Linked DNA regions of Homo sapiens: region 2 is linked to region 1. The links are contacts of gene promoters, found by promoter capture Hi-C in blood cells and fetal thymus (Javierre and others, 2016). All regions are on one chromosome and are shown on one strand. The core of a region is centred on a gene start or on the middle of the fragment in contact, and the rest is flanking DNA. Distances in the headings are between cores, read along the strand shown.

Evidence for each region. The method cuts DNA at HindIII sites, captures the fragments that hold promoters and counts their contacts. A CHiCAGO score of 5 or more calls a contact.
Region 2: a fragment that was not itself captured here is called in contact with the fragment with the promoter of MN1 in region 1 in 1 of 17 cell types (M1 macrophages); the score reaches 5.7 in M1 macrophages.

Annotation. Positions count from the first base shown.
Region 1 is chr22:27,797,952-27,804,081 of GRCh38, reverse strand. MN1 (MN1 proto-oncogene, transcriptional regulator) reads left to right here and starts at 2,326. Exons shown (of 2, transcript NM_002430.3): 1 at 2,326-6,130. The coding sequence starts at 3,539. RefSeq lists enhancers at 4,260-4,805, 4,806-5,352. The HindIII fragment of the contact is 19,591 bases long and covers 1-6,130 here.
Region 2 is chr22:26,826,296-26,832,425 of GRCh38, reverse strand. No RefSeq gene overlaps it. Among named protein-coding and RNA genes, the nearest start is that of LINC01422, 74 kb to the left of the region's middle. The HindIII fragment of the contact is 3,137 bases long and covers 795-3,931 here.

The DNA.
Region 1 (6,130 bases), core at 1,077-3,576:
AGAGCAGACTGAGTGTGTGACCCAGTATCTTGGACTATGCCCAGGCCTTTGCCCATGTGGGGGCCTCTTCCTCACAACCAGGTTTTCCTATTGCCTCCCGCTTTTTGTCCAGGAGGTTCAAGATCCCCCCTGCTCTGTCTCGGGAGCCCCAGAGCCCCAGGGTCCTAGGCCCCGGGGCGGGCGGGGGGGGGGTGTCACTGGAGGGCCTACCCAAGCCTTTATTTCTTTGTGCCTAAATCAGCAAAGCCTCAGTCTTTTCTCTGGCTCTCACTTCCCTGTCACTTTGCTAAGTAATAATTTCCATGTCCAATTCCATTTCTTTTCTAGTTCTGAAACCTCTAAGCTATCAGCAAGAGGATAGTTCACATGAAAACTAATTACACAAAATCAATATTTAATCACAGACCAACAACCTGATCCTGCAGAAAAATCCTTTAAAAACTCCACCGCCCTGTACAAATACTTATTCCCTATGCTTATTTATGGACCCCATTTTTGATGGGGGTAATTTTCATTTTTAATTTCAAAAAAGAAAAAATATATATGTCTGTAAACTTCCACAACAGGAAGGCCCCGGGAAAGGTCTTGGATCTGAGCTTGCTCTGGCTGAGTTTTAAAGTTGTTGTTTTTTCTTGTTTGTTTATTTTTAATTAAAATTTTTTTTGGGCGGGGGGCAATTTCTTAGGAATTCTGCCGCTACCCCAAAGTTGAGCCCATTTCCCCCCACCCCCGGCATGTCGGTTCTGGCATACTTAGCACTGCCTTCCTAGCCGCAACTCAGGGGAGCAATGAATCTGCGCGTACGACATGGTAACTTTTTAACTCCTGCCCGCGACGGTGGAGTGCTTAATCTAAGGTTTTTAAATAAAAAGGGCTCAGGGGTTGGTTTTATTATAACGTTTATTTCATTTCAGATTTCATGCGTAATTTAGCAAACGCTAGACAGACTCGGGCGATAAACACTTTCTTTTGTGGGGGGGGAAAGGCATTTTCATACACCACGCTTAATTTTATTTAGATTTAATAGCGATATCAGGGGCACTTCAAAGAAAGTTCTTTTTTCGCCCTTCTCCTAAGAATGCGAATCTGCTAGCAAAATCGCCTCGTGCTATTTTATGGCAAGGAAAATTAAAGGCCTTCTCCCCCCTCCTTCCCTACACACACTTTAGGGAGGAACACACACACACACACACACGCATGCACAAACACACGCACGCAGGCGCGAGCACACGCACACAGGCGCACAGAATAAACACCTCTATCCTCCATCACCTCTAACTTCCAACTTCTAATTGCAAGATAGATTTCAGCCTCTGTGGGGATCAGGACGATCTAAACATTTTAACTAAGATTATTGGGATAAATATTTCATAAAGAGCAGGGCAGATATTAAATTACTCCTATTGATTTTAGTATCACAGCCCAATTCCATTCCTCGGCCTCTTCAGTTTAATTGATCTCTTAAGGAGGCCAACTTCGCACCCGCAGAGGGTCTGGGTCTTGGACCGGGTGGCCCAGGGCAAGGTGTGCGGCCCGGCGGGTGCGCCCTCTTCGTGCGTGTCTTCTCGGGGTTCCCAGCCGCCTCGCAAGTCGCTCCGGTTACTGGGCTCAACCGATGTGCTCCCCCATAAAGTGGCTGAGTGACTGTGACTCCTTGGAGCCCACGCCGGCCGGTGAGAACCGGGAACCCCAGGCAGTGGGGAAGGGGAACAATTGTGAACGCCCTAGTGACGGAGGAGTGAGCAAGCGCCCAGGTCTCTCGAGGAGAACCCTAACTTCGAGGTTCCCCGTCTGCTTTACCCTCCAAGAAAATCCCAGGGCCGGCTAACTTGGGCGCCGCTAGCGGAGAACGGAGTGTTCACCCCGGAGCCGAAGTGCAGTAGACACTTAGCGACTTTCCGTGGCGAGTCTAGGGTCTTTGCCTGGCGACCTCATTGTCTGAGCGCCCCGTACCGCTCACCGCCCACCTCCCCGCCCCCTGCCCACCCGGTGGGTCTCGCTCCAGTTGGGGGTGGGGAGTTGGGAACAGTGTGAATGGGAAGGGGGTGAACAAAGCCAAGCTCCCGCCATTCTCCTCCGCCTGCACCCTCTCCAGCTCGATGCGCCCGGAGGCCGGGGCGCGCCCCCAGCGCACTGACGCCGGACCCCGAGGAGAGGCGGGCGCAGGGGACCCCAGAGCTGGGGTAGTGCGGGTTCGTGGCGGGGGCTTCGGCAGCCAGGACCCCGGACCACCTTAAGAGCGAGCCCCGCCCCGAGCCCGGAACTTGGGCGGCGCTGATTGGTGCAAATGTAATGGCTGAAATTGATTGCTGAAATGCAAAACTTGTTGCTGCTTCTCCCGGCGCTGGGCGAGAGGCAGACACAGAGAGGGGAGCCGAGACCCTCGGAACGCCCCACGCAGAGCCCCCCCGCTAGTCGGGAGAGGGGTGCGCAGACCCCCCAGAGCTGCCCCCGCGCCCCCCTCCCCCCATTCCGGGCTCTGAGAGCGCAGCGGGAACGCCTTAGCCTGCTCGCCCGGCGTGGCCCCCCGACCCGCGTACGCCCCCCTCCCTCAGGTCCGAGAGGGACTCGCGAAGCACCTCAGCGCGGAGGCAGGGAACCGGAGCCTTGGAGCGACCCAACCCCTCGTCTCGCTGCCCTCCCGCGCCTGCAACGGTGCGCGGAGACTCCGGCGAACTCAGACACCCAACGGCGGAGAACAGAAGCGGCAGGCGGCGGACGTGGCCGCGAAGCTGCGCGCCGAACGCAGCGCACCCGCTGCCGAGCAGAGGAGCCGCGCCTTTCCCCGACCCTCGGCTCCAGCCCCCGGCGCCTGCCGCCTCGCAGCCCCTCTGCGTCCTCGGCTCGGGGGCCGGCACCGGCGATGCCGAGCGGAGCCTCCAGTCCTCCGACCCGCTGAAGAAGCAGCAGCCGCTCGCCCGGAGCCTACGGGGATTGTGCGAGCGGATCGTGCTCGGTGGAGGCTCGGGCTGCGGGGCGCGGGGACTCCGGGGGGCGGGGGGAGGGACCGCTCTGTCGGTGCCCGGCGCCAGCCGCGGCTTTGAAGGGTCTCCCTCCCCTGCCCTTAGCAGCTCTGCCACGGACTCCGGGAGGCTGCGGGCGGCGTCCTGAGGGCTCCCCAGCAGACCCAATCGGACTTGAGAAGGTGATCGCTCTGCTCTCCCAACCCCCTTCCCTCCCCATTCCCCCCACTTAACTTTTTGTCTCCGTTCATCCGCGGCTTCGTCCCCTCCCCGCAGACCCACCCGCGGCTGTGACAACCGCCCGGGGCATGGGCCCCCCAACACGGCTCCTAGAGGCCCCGCGGCCTCGCAAGATGTGAGAGGCCCTCCCCGGGCAGAATCGGAGCTTCAGGAGAGGAGCTAATACCCCGCCCCCCGTCCCTCACATCAGGCGGGGTGGAGGTGCGCGCTGAGCCCCCGCGGTGCTGAGCGTCCCGGAGCGCCCAATCCTGGGCTGGAACGAGTAGCTGGCCGGAGGCGCGCCGCGGAGAGCCGGCTGTCATGCCCTATTGATCCCCCTCTGCCCCCCGCCAAGTATGTTTGGGCTGGACCAATTCGAGCCCCAGGTCAACAGCAGGAACGCTGGCCAGGGCGAGAGGAACTTTAACGAGACCGGACTGAGCATGAACACCCACTTTAAGGCCCCGGCTTTCCACACTGGGGGGCCCCCTGGCCCTGTGGATCCTGCTATGAGCGCGCTGGGCGAACCCCCGATCTTGGGCATGAACATGGAGCCCTACGGCTTCCACGCGCGCGGCCACTCGGAGTTGCACGCAGGGGGGCTGCAAGCGCAGCCTGTGCACGGCTTCTTTGGCGGCCAGCAGCCTCACCACGGCCACCCGGGAAGTCATCATCCCCACCAGCATCACCCCCACTTTGGGGGCAACTTCGGTGGCCCGGACCCCGGGGCCTCGTGCCTGCACGGGGGTCGCCTGCTCGGCTACGGCGGCGCAGCCGGAGGCCTGGGCAGCCAGCCGCCCTTCGCCGAGGGCTATGAGCACATGGCGGAGAGCCAGGGGCCTGAGAGCTTCGGCCCGCAGCGACCGGGGAACCTCCCGGACTTCCACAGTTCAGGTGCCTCCAGCCACGCCGTGCCGGCCCCATGCCTGCCGCTGGACCAGAGCCCTAACCGAGCCGCCTCCTTCCACGGCCTGCCGTCCTCCAGCGGCTCCGATTCCCACAGTCTGGAGCCACGGAGGGTGACGAACCAAGGAGCCGTCGACTCGCTGGAATACAATTACCCGGGCGAGGCGCCCTCGGGACATTTTGACATGTTTTCGCCCTCTGACTCCGAAGGGCAGCTGCCTCATTATGCAGCGGGTCGCCAGGTTCCTGGGGGCGCTTTCCCGGGCGCCTCGGCCATGCCCAGAGCTGCGGGCATGGTGGGCTTGTCCAAAATGCACGCCCAGCCACCGCAGCAGCAGCCCCAGCAGCAGCAGCAGCCCCAGCAGCAGCAGCAGCAGCATGGTGTGTTCTTTGAGAGGTTCAGTGGGGCCAGAAAGATGCCTGTGGGTCTGGAGCCCTCAGTGGGCTCCAGGCACCCGTTAATGCAGCCTCCCCAGCAGGCCCCGCCACCCCCTCAGCAGCAGCCCCCGCAGCAGCCGCCACAGCAGCAGCCGCCGCCGCCACCCGGGCTTCTAGTCCGACAAAATTCGTGCCCGCCTGCGCTCCCTCGGCCCCAGCAGGGCGAGGCGGGCACGCCCAGCGGCGGCCTGCAGGACGGAGGCCCCATGCTGCCCAGCCAGCACGCGCAATTCGAGTATCCCATCCACCGGCTGGAGAACCGGAGCATGCACCCTTATTCCGAGCCTGTTTTCAGCATGCAGCATCCTCCTCCGCAGCAGGCGCCCAACCAGCGGCTGCAGCATTTCGACGCGCCCCCCTACATGAACGTGGCCAAGAGGCCGCGCTTCGACTTTCCGGGCAGCGCGGGAGTGGACCGCTGCGCTTCGTGGAACGGCAGCATGCACAACGGCGCTCTGGATAATCACCTCTCCCCTTCCGCCTACCCAGGCCTACCCGGCGAGTTCACACCGCCTGTGCCCGACAGCTTCCCTTCGGGGCCGCCCCTGCAGCATCCGGCCCCGGACCACCAGTCCCTGCAACAGCAGCAGCAGCAGCAGCAGCAGCAGCAACAGCAGCAGCAGCAGCAGCAACAGCAACAGCAACAGCAGCAGCAGCAGCAGCGCCAAAACGCGGCCCTCATGATTAAGCAGATGGCGTCGCGGAATCAGCAGCAGCGGCTGCGCCAGCCCAACCTGGCTCAGCTAGGCCACCCCGGGGACGTGGGCCAGGGCGGCCTGGTGCATGGCGGCCCGGTGGGCGGCTTGGCCCAGCCGAACTTTGAGCGCGAAGGCGGCAGCACGGGCGCCGGGCGTCTGGGCACCTTCGAGCAGCAGGCGCCGCACTTGGCGCAAGAGAGCGCGTGGTTCTCAGGTCCGCATCCGCCGCCCGGAGACCTGCTGCCCCGTAGGATGGGCGGCTCGGGTCTGCCCGCTGACTGTGGCCCGCACGACCCCAGCCTGGCGCCCCCTCCTCCGCCTGGTGGCTCGGGGGTGCTGTTCCGGGGCCCTCTGCAGGAGCCGATGAGGATGCCCGGAGAGGGCCACGTGCCCGCGCTGCCTTCACCGGGCCTGCAGTTCGGGGGCAGTCTGGGAGGCCTGGGTCAGCTGCAGTCGCCCGGGGCGGGCGTGGGGCTCCCCAGCGCTGCTTCGGAGCGCCGGCCCCCGCCGCCGGACTTTGCTACGTCTGCGCTCGGGGGCCAGCCGGGCTTTCCGTTTGGTGCAGCCGGCCGGCAGTCCACGCCGCACAGCGGTCCAGGCGTGAACTCGCCCCCCAGCGCGGGAGGGGGCGGTGGCAGCTCTGGTGGCGGCGGTGGCGGGGGTGCCTACCCGCCGCAGCCTGATTTCCAGCCCAGCCAGCGCACCTCGGCCAGTAAATTGGGCGCGCTCTCGCTGGGCTCCTTCAACAAGCCCAGCTCCAAGGACAACCTGTTCGGCCAGAGCTGCCTGGCTGCGCTCTCCACCGCTTGCCAGAACATGATCGCCAGCCTCGGGGCCCCCAACCTCAACGTGACCTTCAACAAGAAGAACCCGCCAGAGGGCAAGAGGAAACTGAGCCAGAACGAG
Region 2 (6,130 bases), core at 1,114-3,613, 970 kb after region 1:
TGGAATGGAGATAACCTTGGCTGGAAGCAGCTGAGCTACTTCCCCGGCTTAGGCCTGAATGAGGGGAGAGGGAGGCTACCATAACCTAGAAGGAGGGAGAGTGGGGTTAGATCACTTTGATGACCTTCAGTCAAAGGCCACAGCCAGCCCAGGAAACCAGAGGATGAACCCCTGCCCTTCCTCTCCCTCTCCTTTGATCTCCTGCTGGGGATCCTCATTGGCGGAACCCAGCCAGAGCCAGAGAGAATCTGTTGACCTGGTCCACGCATATCAGTTTCCTGGGCTCAGGGCTGGATGGTGAAGGATGGAGATCAGTCTGGAGGGCCAGATTATATCGTGCATAGAGCCTCCCCTGTCTCCAAGCTAAAATCATTCATTAGTTCCCCCTTTTGTCTACCAGTTCAGGTCCAAACTCCTCAGGACGCCCCTCTACACCTCTCTCTACCCTGGTTTCCACTCAGCTGTGCCCCAGCACCCACTCCCATCTTGCCATCAACCCATAAGTGACCACTTAGAGTCCCCCAAAGCATCAGGTCGACCATTCCACATCTCTGTGCCTTTACCCAGGCTGTGCCCACTGCCTGAAATACCCTCCCTACACCTACCACCTGGGCAAAGACCAGCAGGACACTGAGGCCCTCCAGAGCCCGGAATCAGAATCCAACAAACACGGGCTCAAATCCTGACCCTGCCGCTTTCTGGCCGGTTAACCTTGGGGAAGCCAATGCATCTGGATGAGCCTCATCTCATCACCTATAAAATGGGGAGAACGACAAAGTGCACATCATGAAGCTTCTATGAGATCCAAATGAAACAAAGCGGGTAAAGTGCTTGGCAGGTGGTCTTTTGATGAATCAGACCTTGGCAACTTTTAAGAGGCATGTCCCTGCTGATGTCATTCCTGATCTTCTGTCTTTCTAAGTATCACGATCTCGTTTTTTTCTGAGGCTTTCTAAGCCTTGTGTGGACACCTCTAGGGGTCCCTGAAATGCTTTAGTGTGTGGCTCTTTCAGTGGACCAAGTTGCAAGAGAGAAGGACTGGACAGTATTCATGTTTGTGTCCTCAGCATTCAGAGTGTGATAGGTAGACCCTCAGTGAATACTGAGTGAATGAATGAGTGGATGAATGTCAAAATCATCCTCAAATAAACCAGTCTGCCTGCCCCTCCATCTGAATAAAGGTTGATCTACTTTCCTGGTCATCTGTACAGCTAAACAGGGTGCAGGGTGACCTCTCCATGAAGCCGAGGCCAAGGTCACAGCAAATAGAAGGGGTGATAAGGGAGTCACCAGGCCTGGGTGGGGGCTGCAGGCCCCAGCTCATTGCAAATGCAGAGAGAATCCCAGTGGCAGCTCCTTCTCTGGCAGGGAGCACAGGAAAAGACAAGAAAAATGAAGCCACTGCAATCTCATTTTCTGAGGCCTGCAAGTCAGCCAGGAAATAGCTATTATTCCATCGCACTGTCGGTATTAAGTTATTTCCTTCACTAAATACGGGAATGTTCATGAATATCTATTGAGTCCCAGGTACAGACCCCTCCTGGCTCTGAGGCTCAGTCACTCTGACTTTACATTCCTGCAACAACACCCCTCAATCTTGCTCTGAAGTGAAAGACAATAGTATTTTAAATTGGTTAATAAATCTCTGGATTGATGCTTCTTGAAGGCCCGGGAACTTCCTCTCTATTACTCGAATAAAAGGGATCACATTTTAACCACTGCCAGGCCAGGAATTTGGGGGAGCAATTTGAGCCAGCTGCTCCTTCCTTTTCCTGGGGAAGGAGGGGGTTGAGGTTTCAGGATGTTGGGGCAAACAGACCCTCCTGGAAGCTGGGAAATACTCATTTTCTGGCCAATATGGGCCAATCGGACATCTCGGGTCACTTTGGTTTTGATGGCTTTACATTCAGCTAGTTTCCCTGGATTCAAATAAAAGAGACTCAGAAACAGAGCTTAAGGGGGGGAAGTGGAAGTGGGTGTCTGGTAACCTTTTAAAAAGCTCCCAGGCAAAGATAAGGATGGGTCCTGCCTGCGGGGCCACCACTTCCATGCCAGCCGCACTTAGATGGGTGTGGAGTGTCAATCACACTGGAAAATAACTCCCATGTGGGTTTGTACACCTCCTTCCTCTGTGAGCACAGGTAAACTTGGGCATGCCCCTCAGGATGCAGAAAGTTTTGAAATTAGCCAAGCATGGTGTCACACGCCTGTAGTCCCAGCTTCTTGGGAGGCTGAAGCAGGAGAATCGCTTGAACTCAGGAGGTGGAGGTTACAGTGAGCCGAGATTGCACCACTGCACTCCAGCCTGGGTGACAGAGCGAGACTCTGTCAAAAAAAAAAAAAAAAAAAAAAAAAAAAAGGCCCCGCTGATGGGAAATGTGAAGTCAGACAGAAATGCCTCCCCTTTGTAAGTTTCCTGCCACCTGCTTTATGTCCATTTCTCCATAATCCATCCTCGCACCCTAGAAGGTGGAGAATTCTGACAATTGTCCACAGGCAAGAAAATCCGTGGGTCAGAATCTCTCCTGGAAATTCTCTCCAGTATATTAAGCCAGGGTCCAGCTGCAAGCAGGATCTCAGAAAATAGTGGCAGAATTGGCTGCTGTACAACATCCCCGAATTACAGATGTGCAAACTGAGGCTCAGAAAGAGCACATGGCTTGCTCAGCATCTTGCAGGGAGCTGGCCTGTCCTTTACTCTGCCAAGACAGTTTCGGCACCCATCATGCCCAGGTGCTGACTCGGGTACTAAAGAAACCGAGATGAAGGACAAAAAGACATGGTGGCCACTTTGATGGAGCCCAACATCTCAGGAGGTGCCTGGGGGAGTCGGCTGGGGACAAAGTGAACAGAGAGAACAACAATTTCAGGTGTATCTAATCCCAGGGAAGGAAAGGAAGCAGGATGATGGGATCTGCAGAGTGATGGGATCTGCAGGGTGGGTTGTGGTGGGGCTACGGGTTAGTGGCCATCAAGAGCTGCTCCTCACTTTTCCTGCAGACCCTGGAAAGCTGAGGAGCTGACGCATGTCTCTGAGACCTGGTAAGGTTTTTGGGAGCAGGGATTATATCTGCCTTGAGACCCCAGCTCGCAGCAGACTTGGCTGGCAGCTGATGTTTCGTGTTTGGGGGAGGTGGGCGACTGGAGGGGTTTCGTTGTTATTAATAAGGCTCTGCTCAACATTTCCCTCACCCCTTTATCAGAACACCCCTCAAAACCCTGCTCTGGGTGTGGTGGATATCTCAAGCCAACAGTCTCCTAATTCCAAGGGACATTGTGACCTAAGCTAGGCCAGGCCTTGTCCCTTGCTCTATGCCCTGGCCTCTCTCTCTAACAGGTCCCTCTCACGTGCATGCCTTTGTGCACTCACTGCTTCCTCTTCTTGGACTGATTTCTCCTCCTCCCGTCACCCCTCTTGCCACCTCCCTCACCCTGTGAGCTCCCACTCAAATGTCAAGACTCAGATCAGGAGCGACCTCCTCCAGGAAGCCTTCCCTGACCTCCAGGGAGTGTGTGAGCCTCCTCTGGTCTCCCACCGCTGCCTGAGCTTCCCCAATTACAGCACTGACAGTGGATCACAATCATCCATTTCTATGTCTGTGTCTTACCCTCAGAATGGGACTGTCTCATATTCACCACCTCTGCCAGCACCTAGCATAAGACTCAACACAGAGGTGCTAGTAATACTTGTCAGTGAAACTAACTACTTCTGTTTATCCATTTCAGTAGACAGATTGAAAAAAATAAGCCCCAAGGATCTGCCCTTCCCTATCCCCATGCCCATTGCAATGTAACTTTGAAGCTCTGCCCATTGGAGGATGGAGACTTTTCATCGCCTCTAGAATCTGAGCTGCCCATATGATTTGCCTTGGGCAATAGAATGTGGCAGAAGTGACGTCAGGCCAGTTCTGCACCTAGGTCTTAACAAGCTTTCACTTTCTCTTGTAGAACCCTCCAAGCTCCCATGCAAAGCCCAGGCTAGCCTGCTGGGGGACACAAGACCTGGGGTCTAGTCACCTCCATCGCCCCTGCCAACAGCTAGTCAACCATAGAACATGCAAGTGAGGCCATCCTAGACCAGTCAGCTCTAGCCAACCCACCAGCTTGCATGAGCAGGCCCAGCTGGGATTAGGCAAGCCTGGCTCAGATCAGTAAAACCAACCAGCTGACCTATGAGCCAAAGAAAAAAATATATTGTTATATACTCTTGAGCTTACATTACTGTTTGTTATGCAGCATTAACTGTGCCAATACATAACTAATGCCTTCATTGAAGAGATCTTTCTCCCATGCATAGCACTGGGCATAGCACGTCGCCAATCCAGGTCCCTCCTGGAAACTGTCACCCAACCAAAGGAATCAGAATAGCAGGATCTCTGTGAGATAGGTCAAAGCACAAATCCTAAGGCTGTCTCTGATGGAGCACGTGGAAAGTGACCCCCAGCTGACCCAGTGACCTGTCATCACAGGTGAGGCAGAGGAGCCACGCCACAGGCGCTTCCAGAAAATCTCACAGTCTGGCAAAGGCCTTGCCCAGAATGCTGAATTCTATCTGGGGAATAAAGCCAGACACATCACTCTTTTGGACAAGCAATTTTTTTTTTTGCATAATTGACAATTCTTGGCATATTCTCCCCTTCTCTATGCACAACCTTCCTTTTATGTCACTCATGTACATACCACTCTGAGGTGACTTCCCTGAAAAGTGAACGCCAAAGAGACCTCTGGCTCCTTACCCTTAAATATTCTACTTGTTATAAATTCCCCAAGGAGTCTTCTTAGCTCCAAATATCAGGGGAATTGGAAGGGGGAGTAAGGGGGAAGAAAACACGTTCTCAGAGCAGCTCTTTGTACGTGAGATTCTTTGGTTTGTATTAAAATATTCTCATCTTCCCATAATTTATGGGCACTCCTGGAACTAAGAGGGTCCGCTTTGTCCCTGATCCTCCATTCCAGAAATAAAACTGTTAGTGTCAGAGCGAGTATCTCTGAGAGGGAGGGGGAATAGGACAGAAACTTTCAGAGCATCCAATTTGAGTGATCAGGGAAAGACTCTGCAGACTCACTTCCTGGCCCCACTTGCCAGGGAGTGAGACCCAGCACCAGGCACCTCCCCATCCATGATCTCATTTGATTTTCAGAACGGTCCTGCCAGGATAATATTCTAGTCATTATCAGGTTCCTTTCTGAGAAGAGGAACGTGAGAGTCCTAGGGATGAGATGCCTTCTTAAGAGAGCAGAGCTTGTTTAACATGGGTCTAGAGTTCAAATCCATGTGCAGATGACGCCCCAGTGCTCTCACCAGCCAAACATCCGGAGAAGGAGTGATCACAGAAGGCTACCTGGAAGTGGCAGGACTTAAACTGAGCCTCAGCGCTCAAGAGTCCCAGCTAGCTGTACTTTCTGGGGAAAGAAGTACAATCTATCTTATCCACTCAATTCCCTATAAGACCCTGAAGGGGGCAAAATTCCTGCTGCATCCAGCCCTTTTAAAAATGCATGGATCCCATTTTTCCTTAGATAAAAATCTCTGCTGCATTCTCCTGTGCCAGCTGAGTAAAATTTACTGTCCAGGGTGTGGCATTCAAGGATCTTGTTAATTTGTCTCATTCCACCTTGTTAGCTTTCCATCCCACTATGACCCCTACCTCCCACCCACACACACACACAGATTTATACTTTCAGATATTCCACGTGTTAGTCAAATAACACTTCACCTCTATATACGTAATTTCTCTTCTACATCATTCATGCTAATCCCACTACCTACAACACTCATCTCTGCCTAATGAACTCCTACTCAACCCTCAGAGCCCAAGTCAAACAGCCCTTCAGCTGGGAAGCTTTCCCTTCACTCCTTCATTGACATAGTTCATTGTACACATATCTGGTCAACTAGCACAGTACCAATTGACCCGTAGCAGCATGTTTGTCGTATAGACAGTGAACCTTAAAGATGGGAGCCCAAGTTTTTATCTCTGAATCCTCACAGCTTAGCATGGTGCCTGGCCTTTTGCCCAGAGGTCGTTATAAATGCTTGTTGGATGACTAAATGAACGAGTGAATGAATGGATAAATTTATTGTAGACTTTCAGAAGATGCCCATTGGATGAACCAAAAACTCTGTGAC